3 separate regions of the Homo sapiens genome follow, and regions 1 and 2 are each linked to region 3. The links are contacts of gene promoters, found by promoter capture Hi-C in human tissues and cell types (Jung and others, 2019). All regions are on one chromosome and are shown on one strand. The core of a region is centred on a gene start or on the middle of the fragment in contact, and the rest is flanking DNA. Distances in the headings are between cores, read along the strand shown.

What was found. The method cuts DNA at HindIII sites, captures the fragments that hold promoters and counts their contacts. A contact is called where the count stands out against the background at its distance.
Region 1: a contact is called between the fragment with the promoter of AQP10 here and the fragment with the promoter of NUP210L in region 3, in 1 of the 25 tissues and cell types used here (aorta).
Region 2: a fragment that was not itself captured here is called in contact with the fragment with the promoter of NUP210L in region 3 in 1 of the 25 tissues and cell types used here (adrenal gland).

What each region holds. Positions count from the first base shown.
Region 1 is chr1:154,318,239-154,323,060 of GRCh38, reverse strand. AQP10 (aquaporin 10) reads right to left here and starts at 1,968. Exons shown (of 6, transcript NM_080429.3): 1 at 1,801-1,968; 2 at 1,002-1,128; 3 at 1-79. The coding sequence starts at 1,905. RefSeq lists a silencer at 1,998-2,189. The HindIII fragment of the contact is 14,849 bases long and covers 1-4,822 here.
Region 2 is chr1:153,915,792-153,920,258 of GRCh38, reverse strand. The region is part of intron 1 of GATAD2B (GATA zinc finger domain containing 2B); the gene reads left to right. Among named protein-coding and RNA genes, the nearest start is that of GATAD2B, 4.9 kb to the left of the region's middle. The HindIII fragment of the contact is 5,978 bases long and covers 1-4,467 here.
Region 3 is chr1:154,153,811-154,158,167 of GRCh38, reverse strand. It overlaps NUP210L (nucleoporin 210 like), which reads left to right and starts at 3,095. Exons shown (of 40, transcript NM_207308.3): 1 at 3,095-3,326. The coding sequence starts at 3,124. It also overlaps a transcript of TPM3 not described here. RefSeq lists a silencer at 1,977-2,154 and enhancers at 2,761-3,261, 3,262-3,762. The HindIII fragment of the contact is 16,458 bases long and covers 1-4,357 here.

The DNA of each region.
Region 1 (4,822 bases), core at 719-3,218, 170 kb before region 3:
ATGTAAATGGGGAGCTTGACCCAGGGGAGGCGTCCAACGATGCACATGGCCAGGGAGAAGGCTGGATTCAGGTGGGCCCCTTCAAGTATCAAGGAAAGAAAAAGAGCATCTATTAAGTGTCACTGCCAGGCATTGTCACCAGACAACACTACTGCTCCTTCCTATAGCTCTTAAGGCAGATAGTGTAATTCTCATCACACAGCTTAGGAAATTGAGGCTCCAGATGTTACAGATGTTAAGTGACTTAGCAAAGTCACACTGTGGGCCAGGCACAGTGGCTCACGCCTGTAATCCCAGCACTTTGGGAGGCCGAGGCAGTGGATCACTTGAGGTCAGGAATTCCAGACCAGCCTGGCCAACATGGTGAAACCCCGTTTCCACTAAAAACACAAATATTAGCCAGGCGTGGTAGCAGGTGCCTGTAAAATCAGCTATTCGGGATGCTGAGGCAGGAGAATCGCGTGAACCCAGGGGCAGAGGTTGCAGTGAACAGACATCACACCACTGCTCTCCAGCCTGGGCAACAGAGTGAAACTCCATCTCAAAAAAAAAGAAAAAAAAAAAAAAAAAAGAAGAAGACACTGTGAATCCAAAGTTGGAACCTAGGTCTGTCTGCTTTTTCCACAGCAACACACTATGTCTCAAGGCTCCACCCAAGCACACCGATGCAGTGTGTATCTGGGGTACAAACAGGAGAGGTCCTGAGTGGAGATGAGCCCCCAGAGGACTTCAGGTGGGGGATACAAGAGGATAGCAGCTGCCCTTCGTGCCCTGCCATTGATTTCTGTCTAGGTGAGCCAAGCATTAGTGTGAGGAAGCAGGATGGAGAGATACAGAAAGAGGAGGGGCTGGTGGGGCCAAAGGCTTATTTCAGTCTGGGACACTGTTCAAGGGGATAATGTCCACGAGTCACAGAAGGATTTGCGTTTCCACCATCACCAGACAGACAAACTGGCATGCACATCCCACGTGCTCTGATGACCAGACCCCACCCTCCTCACCTGAGACGTTACCACCCACGTAGATGGCTATCGTAACGGCCAGAGAGCCAGCCAGAAACATGGTGAAGAAGTTGCCTTTGGTTTCTCCACTGGTGACAGCCTGGGCCACAGCTCCTTGGGTGAGGAGCTGCTGAGAAGAGGAGAGATGAGGAACAGGGAGCCCAGGAGACCAACAGGGAGAAAGGTTGGGAAGGCCAGGGGAGCAGCCAAGGAGATGAATGAGCACAGAAGACAAGCAAGGGAAGGAGAAAAGCAGAAGGAGGGAAGGGAAAAGAAATGGGGAAAGTGGAGGAAGAAGAAAGGGAAAGAATGTGGGAAAAAAGAAAAGAATTTACCCAACTCATAGGCATTTGAGGGTACAAACCCATGGCAGGGCTCAGCTTTAAAAAGTCTTATCTAAGATTCTTTCTATGGAAGAGTTCCATCAAAGCCAATTTTAAAAGCCTATGTGAAAAATAATTATTCTTGCTGCACTTTATACAATCATCAGGCCAAGTATAATAAAGCACATTGGTCTTACCATGAAAATGGTCTTTCATAAAAATGGGAAACTGAAGAGAGAAAAATTATGTTTCAAGAACTATGATACACTTGTTATTAAAGAAAGAATAAAAATGACAAGAATAAAAATGATGAAGTAGGAGAGGAAAGGAGATTAGGAGAGACGAGAGGATAAAAACGAAAAGTGATAGGGAGTTGAGAGGAAGGGGGACACCAAGAGAAAGAGATAAGGACAACAGAAGGAGCCAGGAACTTTTGCCCAACCCCCTTCTTTCCTTCCCGCAGTGATCCTACCTACCATGAGTACAAACACACCCAGAAACTCTGCCAGGCACTGCCGGGCCAGGAGGCTGCGTATCCGGAGGTGGCCCATGATTTCAGCCGGGGCCTGAGTGAAGACCATGGTGGAAACACCCTATTGCTATTCACTGCTCCCTCTGTCTGCATAGGCACACTGTCACTGCACAGCTACTGCCTGCCTCCAGCAAAGATAAGGAACAGACTTTAAAACCATTAGCTCAGTTCCTGAACAGCAGCTACGTGTCTGTGCACGTGTGTAGGCTAGGAAACAGAGAGATAACAAGAGAATGTCTGGGAGCAGGCTATGAACACAGAGCCTGGAGTTTACCCAACCTCTGTCTCTTTTACCCTTCATTCCCAGTCATCACAGGACTAGCCTCCCCCATCCTGACAAATAGAAGGAAGTACCCCGCTTCATAGACATTAGATCTCTTGGTCCTGAAGTCAGCTCTGCAAAGTAGTACTATTGCTTCCATTCTACAGATGAGGCTAGTGGGCCTTAGAACTCCCCAAGATCAAACTTTTTTTTTTTTTTTTTCTGAGAGAGAGTCTTGCTCTGTCCCCCAGGCTGGAGTGCAGTGGCACCATCTCAGCTTACTGCAACCTCCACCTCCCAGGTTCAAGCAATTCTCCTGCCTCAGCCTCCCAAGTAGATGGGACTACAGGTCCATCACACCTGGCTAATTTTGATATTTTTTAGTAAAGACTTGGTTTCTCGGGAGGCCGAGGCAGGCAGATCACGAGGTCAGGAGATCAAGACTATCCTGGCCAACATGGTGAAACTCCATCTCTACTAAAATACAAAAAAATTAGCGTGGTGGTGCACGCCTGTAGTCCCAGCTACTCGGGAGGCTGAGGCAGGGGAATCACTTGAACCAGGGAGGCGGAGGTTGCAGTGAGCCGAGATTGTGCCACTGCACTCCAGCCTGGCAACAGAGCGAGACTTTGTCTCAAAAAAAAAAAAAAAAAAAAAGACGGGGTTTCACCATGTTGGCCAGGCTGGTCTCAAACTCCTGACCTCTAGTGATTCACCTTCCTTGGCCTCCCAAAGTGCTGGGATTACAAGCGTGAGCCACCGTGCCCGGCCCAAGATCACACAATTATTTCATGGCTGAGTGAATTCAAATCCAGATTTTCTGACTCTCCAGCTGGTAACCCACAAAGCCTCTCATTTAGAACCTGAAGCCTTACCCCAAACCATTTGGATGCTTGAAGAACTCAATAGGCATCTGGAAAGACTGGGCTAAAGACCACAGACTGTGGGAATGAAACTCACATATTGAGTGCTTGTACTTCCCTTATGCCGAGTGTCACATAGGTTAGAGAATACTCCATCTTTGTGTCCCCTGACATGGCTTGACATGAGGCCTTCACACTCATGCTGAGCTCCACCTGGCCTTCTCTGGGTGCATGCCACTCTTGCTCTGCATGAAGTAACCGCATCCTACTTCTTCATATCTCAAGGCTCCAATTAAATGCATTCAAAGAATCTACGTCTAGACACTGGAGAAACAGTGGTGAACAAAACATAGTCTCTGCCCTCCTAGAGCTTATGTTCTAGTAGGTGGAAACAGACAATATGCAACTTTTTAAAATACCATATACAGTTTATGAAGTTCTTGAGGGCTACCATTATGATTTATGTAACCCTGTGGGCTCTACCACTGTCCTGGGCACATCTGTGTGACTAGTAAAGAAATAATATTTCTTTACTAGGTTTAATGGATACTATAGTGCTCCACCCAGATTCCCCCTTGGGAGCCAATATGCCCATTCGCTACATGTAGGAAATACCAGCTGCTGATACCACATAGCTACCTCCCTCATTGGGCAATGCCCTTCAAGTCAGAAAGATGCCTCACCGAAGGTTACATGCCCTCCTATGGGGCCCATGTCAAACACTGATTGATGGAGGGATATAAAAGTCTAGCCTCTTTGCCTCACTTTGCGACAACTCTAAAGGGCTGTTCCAGCTCCAGTTCCCCCATAGGATCCATTTAGGCATCTGTTATATCATCCATGTGTGTCAGTTTCTCCTGGTGCCTAATCTTGTTACAGGAAAGGGGTCTGAATCCAGATCCCAAGAGAGGGTTCTTGGATCTCACACTAGAAATAATTCAGGCTGAGTGCGGCGGCTCATGCCTGTAATCCTAGCACTTTGGGAGGCCAAGGCGGGATCACAAAGTCAGGAGATTGAGACCATCCTGGCTAACATGGTGAAACCCCGTCTCCATTAAAAATACAAAAAAATTAGCCGGGCATGGTGGTGGGCGCCTGTAGTCCCAGCTACTTGGGAGGCTGAGGCAGGAGAATGGCATGAACCCGGGAGGTGGAGGTTGCAGTGAGCCGAGATCGCACCACTGCACTCCAGCCTGGGTGACAGAACGAGACTCCGCCTCAAAAAAAAGAAAAAAAGAATTCAGGGCGAGTCCATAGAGTAAAGTGAAAGCAAGTTTATTAGGAAAGTAAAGGAATAAAACAATGGCTACTCCATAGACAGAGCAGCCCCGAGGGCTGCTGGTTGCCCATGTTTATGGTTGTTTCTTGATGATATGCTAAACAAGAGGTGGATTATTCATGCCTCCCCTTTTTAGACCATATAGGGTAACTTCCTGTCATTGTCATGGCATTTATAAACTGTCATGGCATGAGCCACCATGCCCGGCCATGACCTGTATCTTATGGCAACCTCCTATCTCATTCTGTAACTTAGAATGCTTTAACCATCTGGGAATGCAGCCCAGTAAGTCTCATTCTCATTTTACTCAGCTCTTGTTCAAAATAGACTTGCTCTGGTTCACGTGCCTCTGACATTTCCCCCCTTCCTTTTATAAGAGAAGCACTAATCCTAAGGGTTGCAGAGGGACGAAGGTCCATCTTCTGTAAGTTCTTCAGGATGAATAGGGGCGATGATATTTTTGCCTAACTCTTAGAATCTCTCATATTCGTGGTAGAGAGGAGCTCAGTTGGAAAGTGTTGGTATGGGCCAGGCGGGATGGCTCATGCCTGTAATCCCAACA
Region 2 (4,467 bases), core at 1,147-3,646, 240 kb after region 3:
ATCATGTGTTGAGACCTCTGAATTCATCTCACCTTTAAGCAGTGAGTCTTGTGTGTTGCATGTAAAGCATTCCTCCTGTTTCAATTTACTGATTCTTCTTCCTTTCCTCCCCCACCCACCAAGCTGGAGGTGCATGTGGAGGAAAACAGCAGCTGTGCTGTCCTGATTTCTAGACTCTGGAGCATATTCCATGTTAGCCACCCCATTGGGAGTCATGCTGACAAGCAGCCCCTCTGCGCTTAACTTAGAAGGCTCATGTTGCTTGGCTCATTGAGAAAAGCCAACCAGCTTTGGTTGATTAAAACAACTGCTAGAGAAATCGTAAGATTTGAGCCATAACTGGGACTGAGGGACTTTCTTTTCCAGACCTTTGCAGTACTTAAAGCCCTGCATTATTACATATCAAGGCACAATAGCCAGACATTTTCTGAGGTAGTTTGGAGGGAAAGAAAAAGTAAAGACACACACCCAGATTGACTGTAAATCTAGTCCTGGCATAAAGCTGTCCACCTCTTGCTTGGGGAAAAAATCCAGTCTATCAGACAATACCACATAGAGTTGCAGTTCTCCTGCTTTTGGCTAAGCCTAGGAAAAGATATATAAGGAAGTTCAGTTTATGTTACAATGACTGGATTTTGTGGTGTATCTTCTATTAGCCATATTATTTGGTTTATCCTCAGTAGTCTCTGTGAAGCTTTTTCTGTAGGTCCTGTTTGGGGATTTTGGTGGCTCCAGAATCCTTGAAGCAGCAACCTCCTTTCTTTGTGTAGCAGTGATGAAAGCTTCTGAAGAATAGGTCTGATTTGAAACAGACCCCTCCTCATGTTCCATCTTTTACCTTCTCCCTTGTGGATATATGAAATATTCCTGTATAGCTTGAATTCATCCAGTAAGAAGGGAGTGTCCCAGGGTCATTAGGGCTTTTAACCTGTCTGAGGTATTTAGATGGTGGCTTGGTAATGTTTGCTGTCTCTCACAAAATCCCCCTTACCTTTGCCATTTACCTAGGTTGCCATCAGCTGGCAAGAAACTATCAACAGTTTTGGGTTATAGTACAAAAAGCAGCAGATTACTAAGAACACATCATTCGTTACTTTTGAGATATGAAGTGGTCAGATCCAGACCTCAAAGAATCATAGTAACTGCAGAAGCATCTTTGACAATGTGTGAACTTGTTATTAATAATAACTAGTAAACTGCTAAAGAAATTAAGGGAAATTATAGCAATTCCATATTCCTGAGCCATTCTCTTACTGTTTTTCACACCTGGCTAGTTCCATTTTATTTTATTTTATTTTATATTTTTTGAGATGGAGTTTTGCTCTTGTTGCCCAGGCTGGAGTGCAGTGGTGTGATCTCAGCTCAGTGCAACCTCTGCCTCCTGGGTTCAAGTGATTCTCCTGCCTCAACCTCCCAAGTAGCTGGGATTACAGTCACCTGTCACCATGCCTGGCTAATTTTTGTATTTTTAGTAGAGACGGTTTCACCATGTTGGCCAGGCTGGTCTCGAACTCCTGACCTCAGGTGATCTGCCCACCTCAGCCTCCCAAAGTGCTGGGATTACAGGCATGGAGCCATTGTGCCCGGCCTTAGTATCCATTTAAAAAAATAATTCAGGTTACTGTTACCTAAAGCTGAGAGTCGTACTTTAAATCTTTTGATCAAAGCTTTCTTCGGCTTGTCTCATTTCAAGGGAGGGTGGAATTTATAATCTTTAAAAATACATGCTGGAATGTTAGTAGGATTTAGATTAGACACCAGGATTAATAAATTCTCATTATAATTGTGAAGGATTGCAAATGTTAACTGAAAGACTTGTGCATCTCTTGCCCAGAGGATTTTTATAATGTTAGCATTTTTAGAGTATTTAAACTCAAACTTGCTGAAAGAGAGGGGATGAACTAATATGTGGCAGATTGGACTAGTGGAACACAGGTTGTGGAGAGCCTTGAAGTCCTGGGTTGAATTCTAGCTTTGTGATTTATTAGCTAACTGATTTTGGGTAATGCTACTAATTTTTGAATTCTCATTTCTTGCAGACAGAGTAATGCCAGTCCTTGCAATAGCCTTTAAGGCTTTACATGGTTTGCCCTCCCCAACCTCTTCCATTTTTGATCGGCTGTCATCTTCCCTCTTGCTCTCTCCATTCCAGCCACACTGACTTGCTCCTTGAATGCTGATCAGTCACACTCTATCTTAGAACCTTGGCAGGTTCCTAAGACCAAGTGATTCCTTCTAGTGGGAAAACAGCTAGGTTTCCCCACAGAGAATGGCTGATTGCCTCACCTCCTTAACGTCTTTGCTTAAATGTCACCTTTTTAATGAAGTCTTATCCTTCCTTTCTTTAAAATTGTATTGTCAGTTCCCATCCCTCATGCTTATCCTTGCCTGCTCTATTTTCTTTTTCATAGGACTTAACACTTTTATAATATATTTATTTGTTACATTTATTGCCTATTGGTTCTCTTTCTATGATGTAGGTCTTAGAAGGCATGGATTTGTTTTGGTAATTTGTTTAGTGCCTAGTACAGTGCCTGGCATGTAGTTAATAATAAATGTTTGTTGGCCGGGGTTGGTGGCTCATGCCTGTAATCCCAGCACTTTGGGAGGCTGAGGCGGGCGGATCACATGAGGTCAGGAGTTCGAGACCAGCCTAGCCAACATGGTGAAACCCCGTGTCTACTAAAAATACAAAAATTAGCTGGGCGTGGCAGTGGGCACCTGTAATCCCAGCTACTTGAGAGGCCGAGGCAGGAGAATAGCTTGAACCTGGGAGGTGGAGGTTGCAGTGAGTCGAGATTGCACCATTGCACTCCAGCCTGGGTGATAGCGTGAGACTCAGTTTCAAAAAAAAAAAAAGATATGTGGGGCATGGTGGCTCACACCTGAAATCCCAGCACTTTGGGAGGCCGAGGCGGGTGTATCATGAGGTCAGGAGTTCAAGACCAGCCTGGCCGAGATGGTGAAACCCCATCTCTACTAAAAATACAAAAATTAGCCAGACATGGTGGCAGTTGCCTGTAATCCCAGCTACTCGGGAGGCTGAGGCAGAGAATTGCTTGAACCCAGGAGGTGGAGGTTGCAGTGAGCTGAGATCGTGCCATTGCACTCCAGCCTGGGTGACAGCGTGTGACTCAGTTTCAAAAAAAAATAGGCCGGGTGCGGGGGCTCACACCTGTATTCCTAGTACTTTGGGAGGCCGAGGGGGGTAGATCACGAGGTCAGGAGTTCAAGACCCGCCTGGCCAAAATGGTGAAACCCCATCTCTACTAATAATACAAAAATTAGCCAGACATGGTGGTGGGCGCCTGTAATCCCAGCTACTCGGGGGGCTGAGGCAGAGAATAGCTTGAACCCGGGAGGCAGAGGTTGCAGTGAGCCGAGATTGTGCCACTGTGCTCTAGCCTGGTCAACAGAGTGAGACTCTCTCTCAAAAATAAATAAATAAACAAATAAAAGTTTGTTGATCCAATAGGAATAAAAATAACCTGTCATACTAATCTCATGTTTGTATGTAACAAAAGTATGAAATACAAGCATAAAATGTTTTGTGAACTTTAAAGCATAATGCAAATAATGATGAAATTATTGCCTTCCCGTTAAAATGGTAAAATACACTTGATTATTGAAAAAAACTTCATATATATTCAATATATTATCATTTCTCTCCTAAACTCCAGCCCTTTGTTTCCGGTTGTCTACTGTGAGCTAGACGTATCTATACCTTTGTATCAAGTTGGTACTCAAACTCAACATTTCCAACATCATTTCTTCCCTGTGATTCATTGAGTCATCTAAACCAGAAATGTGAGCATCATTGTCACTTCTGTCTTACCTATTACTTTCTAAATATTTCTGAATCTAGCTTCTTCTGTGTCTCCATTGCTGTTCTCATTCAACAGCTCTTATTTTGGGATATTGCCTTGATCGCTTACACATCTGTTTATAGTCTTACTCTCTTTTTCTTTTTTTTTTTTTTTTCTTGAGGTGGAGTCTCACTCTGTCACTGGAGTGCAGTGGTGCAATCTTAGCTTACTGCAACCTCCACCTCCTGGGTTCAAGTGATTGTTCTGCTTCAGCCTCCTGAGTAGCTGGGATTACAGGTGTCTGCCACTACACCCAGATAATTTTTGTATTTTTAGTGGAGACGAGGTTTCACCATGTTGCCCCAGGCTGGTCTCAAACTCCTGACCTCAAGTGATCCGCCCACCTGGGCCTCCCAAAGTACTGGGATTACAGGCGTGAGCCACCGCACCCGGCTGTCTTATTCTCTTGTAAACTCTCTATCATCGTGCCTTCAAAATAGTCTAACACTTACTGATTATTCTACTTTCCTCATCTTAAAAGTATTTAGTAGTTTCCAGTTATTAAAAGATTAAAATGTAAACTTTGAGTGGTATTCAAGGCCCTTTATGTTGTTGGTGTTTGCCTTCCTATCCAGCCCTACTTCTGTACCTTATAGTTAAT
Region 3 (4,357 bases), core at 1,846-4,345:
AAAACATGTAGTGCATGAGGATCTTCCTGTGCTCTTTATAATCTGAGATTCTGATGTTTCTATTGTTTGCAATGTTCAAACTCCGGTGAGCCATTTCAAGAGGGTATTGTTATGTGGGCAAAACCTAGAAAAGTGGATGGCTGATGGTTAAGGCTTGCTCTTTCATTGACTGAAAGCTGAAAGTGTTGGTTGGGTGTGGGAGGGAGAGGAAATGGCTGATAAGGGCCCTAACTCCCTCACCCAGGAAGTGCAGCAACACCTACAACTTCAGTAGGCAAGCCAAAGGCCCTACAAAACTGGGTGATGTAATAGCTCACTTCTGTGGCTGAGAAGGCAGCTGCTTTATCAGTCTGCAGCTTCTCTGCAACAGGAGCAAGTCTCAAAGAGCGGGTAGACCTTGAAATTTACTTCTAGTTCTTGTAACTTCTCTCCTTTACCCCCATTAGATAAACTGAAATGCACCAAAGAGGAGCACCTCTGTACACAAAGGATGCTGGACCAGACCCTGCTTGACCTGAATGAGATGTAGAACGCCCCAGTCCCACCCTGCTGCTGCTCCTCCCTCTGACCCAGACTCCGCCTGAGGCCAGCCTGCGGGAAGCTGACCTTTAACTGAGGGCTGATCTTTAACTGGAAGGCTGCTTTCTCCTTTCACCACCCCCTCCTTCCCTGTGTCTTTTTCGCCAAACTGTCTCTGCCTCTTCCCGGAGAATCCAGCTGGGCTAGAGGCTGAGCACCTTTGGAAACAACATTTAAGGGAATGTGAGCACAATGCATAATGTCTTTAAAAAGCATGTTGTGATGTACACATTTTGTAATTACCTTTTTTGTTGTTTTGTAGCAACCATTTGTAAAACATTCCAAATAATTCCACAGTCCTGAAGCAGCAATCGAATCCCTTTCTCACTTTTGGAAGGTGACTTTTCACCTTAATGCATATTCCCCTCTCCATAGAGGAGAGGAAAAGGTGTAGGCCTGCCTTACCGAGAGCCAAACAGAGCCCAGGGAGACTCCGCTGTGGGAAACCTCATTGTTCTGTACAAAGTACTAGCTAAACCAGAAAGGTGATTCCAGGAGGAGTTAGCCAAACAACAACAAAAACAAAAAATGTGCTGTTCAAGTTTTCAGCTTTAAGATATCTTTGGATAATGTTATTTCTATTTTTTATTTTTTTCATTAGAAGTTACCAAATTAAGATGGTAAGACCTCTGAGACCAAAATTTTGTCCCATCTCTACCCCCTCACAACTGCTTACAGAATGGATCATGTCCCCCTTATGTTGAGGTGACCACTTAATTGCTTTCCTGCCTCCTTGAAAGAAAGAAAGAAAGAAGACTGTGTTTTTGCCACTGATTTAGCCATGTGAAACTCATCTCATTACCCTTTTCTGGGTTTGAAGCTGCTGTCTCTAGAAGTGCCATCTCAATTGTGCTTTGTATCAGTCAGTGCTGGAGAAATCTTGAATAGCTTATGTACAAAACTTTTTAAATTTTATATTATTTTGAAACTTTGCTTTGGGTTTGTGGCACCCTGGCCACCCCATCTGGCTGTGACAGCCTCTGCAGTCCGTGGGCTGGCAGTTTGTTGATCTTTTAAGTTTCCTTCCCTACCCAGTCCCCATTTTCTGGTAAGGTTTCTAGGAGGTCTGTTAGGTGTACATCCTGCAGCTTATTGGCTTAAAATGTACTCTCCTTTTATGTGGTCTCTTTGGGGCCGATTGGGAGAAAGAGAAATCAATAGTGCAACTGTTTTGATACTGAATATTGACAAGTGTCTTTTTGAAATAAAGAACCAGTCCCTCCAACCCTCAGACCTATTTGACTTTTATTTATTAAAACTAAATGTGCTTTCTCCACAGAAGCTATGAGGTTTGGGTTAAAAATAGCATCTTTGTGGGTGGTAGCAACAGGATTTATTCTTTATTATTATTATTTTTGAGATGAAGTTTCATTCTTGTTGCCTGGGCTGGAGCGTAATGGCTCGATCTCGGCTCACTGCAACCTCCGCCTCCTGGTTCAAGAGATTCTCCTGCCTCAGCCTCCCGAGTAGCTGGGATTACAGGCACCTGCCACCATGCCCGGGTAATTTTTTATATTTTAAGTAGAGACAGGGCTTCACCATGTTGGCCAGGCTGGTCTCGAACTCCTGACCTTCAGGTGATCCACCTGCCTCAGCTTCCCAAAATGCTGGGATTACGGGCGTGAGCCACCGCACCCAGCTGGAGCAACAGGATTTAATATAGAGCAAATGTTTAGTTTTATCATCTGTAAAATGGAGATAAGTATTGTCAGAGTAAACATGAAGATTAGAAAGAACACTTAATGTGCTGGGCCTTTTATAGGTTAACACTGACATCTCAGGCTGAACTATATACATTTTCCTTCACAACCATATCAATCCTTATAAACTATGGATTTATGCTCCTTAAAACAATATATAATGCTGATCACTACTATAAATGCGTGGTTTTAACCAACTGTACTGAAACAGCTTTGAGTTTATATTCTGTTTGGATATTTGGAGAAAACAACAAGTGCTCTCAAGAGTATTTGCTTAGAGGCCGGCTGTGTGAGTGGATAACTTTGAAAGCTGCTTTTGAGACGCCAGTGTCTGGCATTTCCTGCATTCTGGCCTGGAGGCCGGACGTGAATCTGACTTCTAGTAAAAATACACGGTTCCCTTGACAAAGTCGAGCTGTTTATCCCAGAGACTGCACAATTTTCCGTTGATAGGCATGGACCAATGCTAACTGGAAATCATTGCAAAAAGTTTTTTTGTCGGGCGGAGGGTGTGGTGTTAAGATAAACAGTGTGCAACAGAAGAAATTAAAACTGGAAGAAATTAAAGGGTTTTTTTTAGACTTTTCTGCTTGTTCCTTACTGTTAAAAAGGTCTGCCATCCAGTATTTAGGAAAGCCCTTTAAGAGAGTTTGAGGTGTTTTAGCTGGGTTTGTGCCAAAAGTTTCCATTATATTGGCTTGCTGAAGGACTGCATTTAAAAATGCCCACACATCCGAGCAAGAAGCAGGTCCCATCCCCCTCTGCTGACGTCACGCCTGTGGATTGGCTGATGGAGCTGTGAGCCGGCTGTAGTTGAGCGGGAACCCGAGACCTGGCAGTCGCCATGACTGGCTGTCCGGCGTCATCAAGACGCCGAGGCTTCGGGCTCTTTTTCTTCTTGCGTCTACACCGCCTCCTGTTGTTGTTTCTGGTTTTGCGTGGGACCCTGGCCAACAAACTTAACGTGCCACAGGTGTTGCTACCCTTCGGCCGAGAGCCAGGCCGGGTGCCTTTCCTGCTGGAGGCCCAGCGGGGCTGCTACACTTGGTGAGGGGTGGTGGGTGACAAGGATATGCACCCTCACTACCATCCAGTAAGGGTGAGGGGGGTTCCCTCTGTAAGATCCCACAGGAATACCGTGTGGGGCCGCGTGAAGGGGCCTAGCCGGTAGGGGAGGAGAGTGTGGTGTCAGTGAAGGTGGCGAGGAGCAGACCCTTGGGTGTGGCGTGTCCTACTCATGTGGTATATCCTCCAGCTGTGTGACAATCTTCCAGACGTGTGAGGAATTCTCGGGATGTGGGACTGGCCTCTTCTCTGTGTGTGTTGGGAAGGGGTGGTCACTATGAGCAGCCGTCAGGGTAAAGGGAAGCCCTGTGTTGGAGGCCACAGGTACTGATGACTTCCAATGTAAACAACTAGAGTAAGAGGAAGTTCCCCATATCTGAGGAAATTTCTGTAGGAACAGGAAAACTTGGGGTGCGAGGGTCCCCACTAACTATAGATGAGCTATTCAATGTGAGAAGGACTTAAAACACAACAGCCAAGTATTGGGGGTTAACTAAGCACTTTACATGTGTTAACTCATTCGCTTTTTGCAGTCTTATGAAGTAAGTACTATTACTCCCATTTCACAGACGAGGAAAGTGAGGCCCAGAGACTATGAAGTGTAAACTTCTGGGAATATGAGAAGATTTATCGTGGGTGGAGATGAGATCTGTCTGTATTATCAAAATTGCCCCATTTATAAAAGGGTACCCGCTTGAAGTGTGAGGACAGGGGGTACACACAACTCCGGGATAATGACTTCCTGACTGAAGATGAAGAGACATGATTTTCTGGTGTGAGAGGACCCAATGATGGGTTATGTGGTTGCCTAAGGTATGAGAGAACCTAACCGAAGTGAGCTTCAGGATGCCAGTGCATTCATCCTAGATGGAGTAGATACCCCTTTGCCATCTCCTAGGAGAAGCAATGAGGTTTGTTCCGAGTATAAATTCACCTCTCATTTTATGAGGAAGTATAAGGAAAGTGAGCTTGTAAGATGATCCAGTGTGACGTGTGTGTTTCCTGACCGTGAG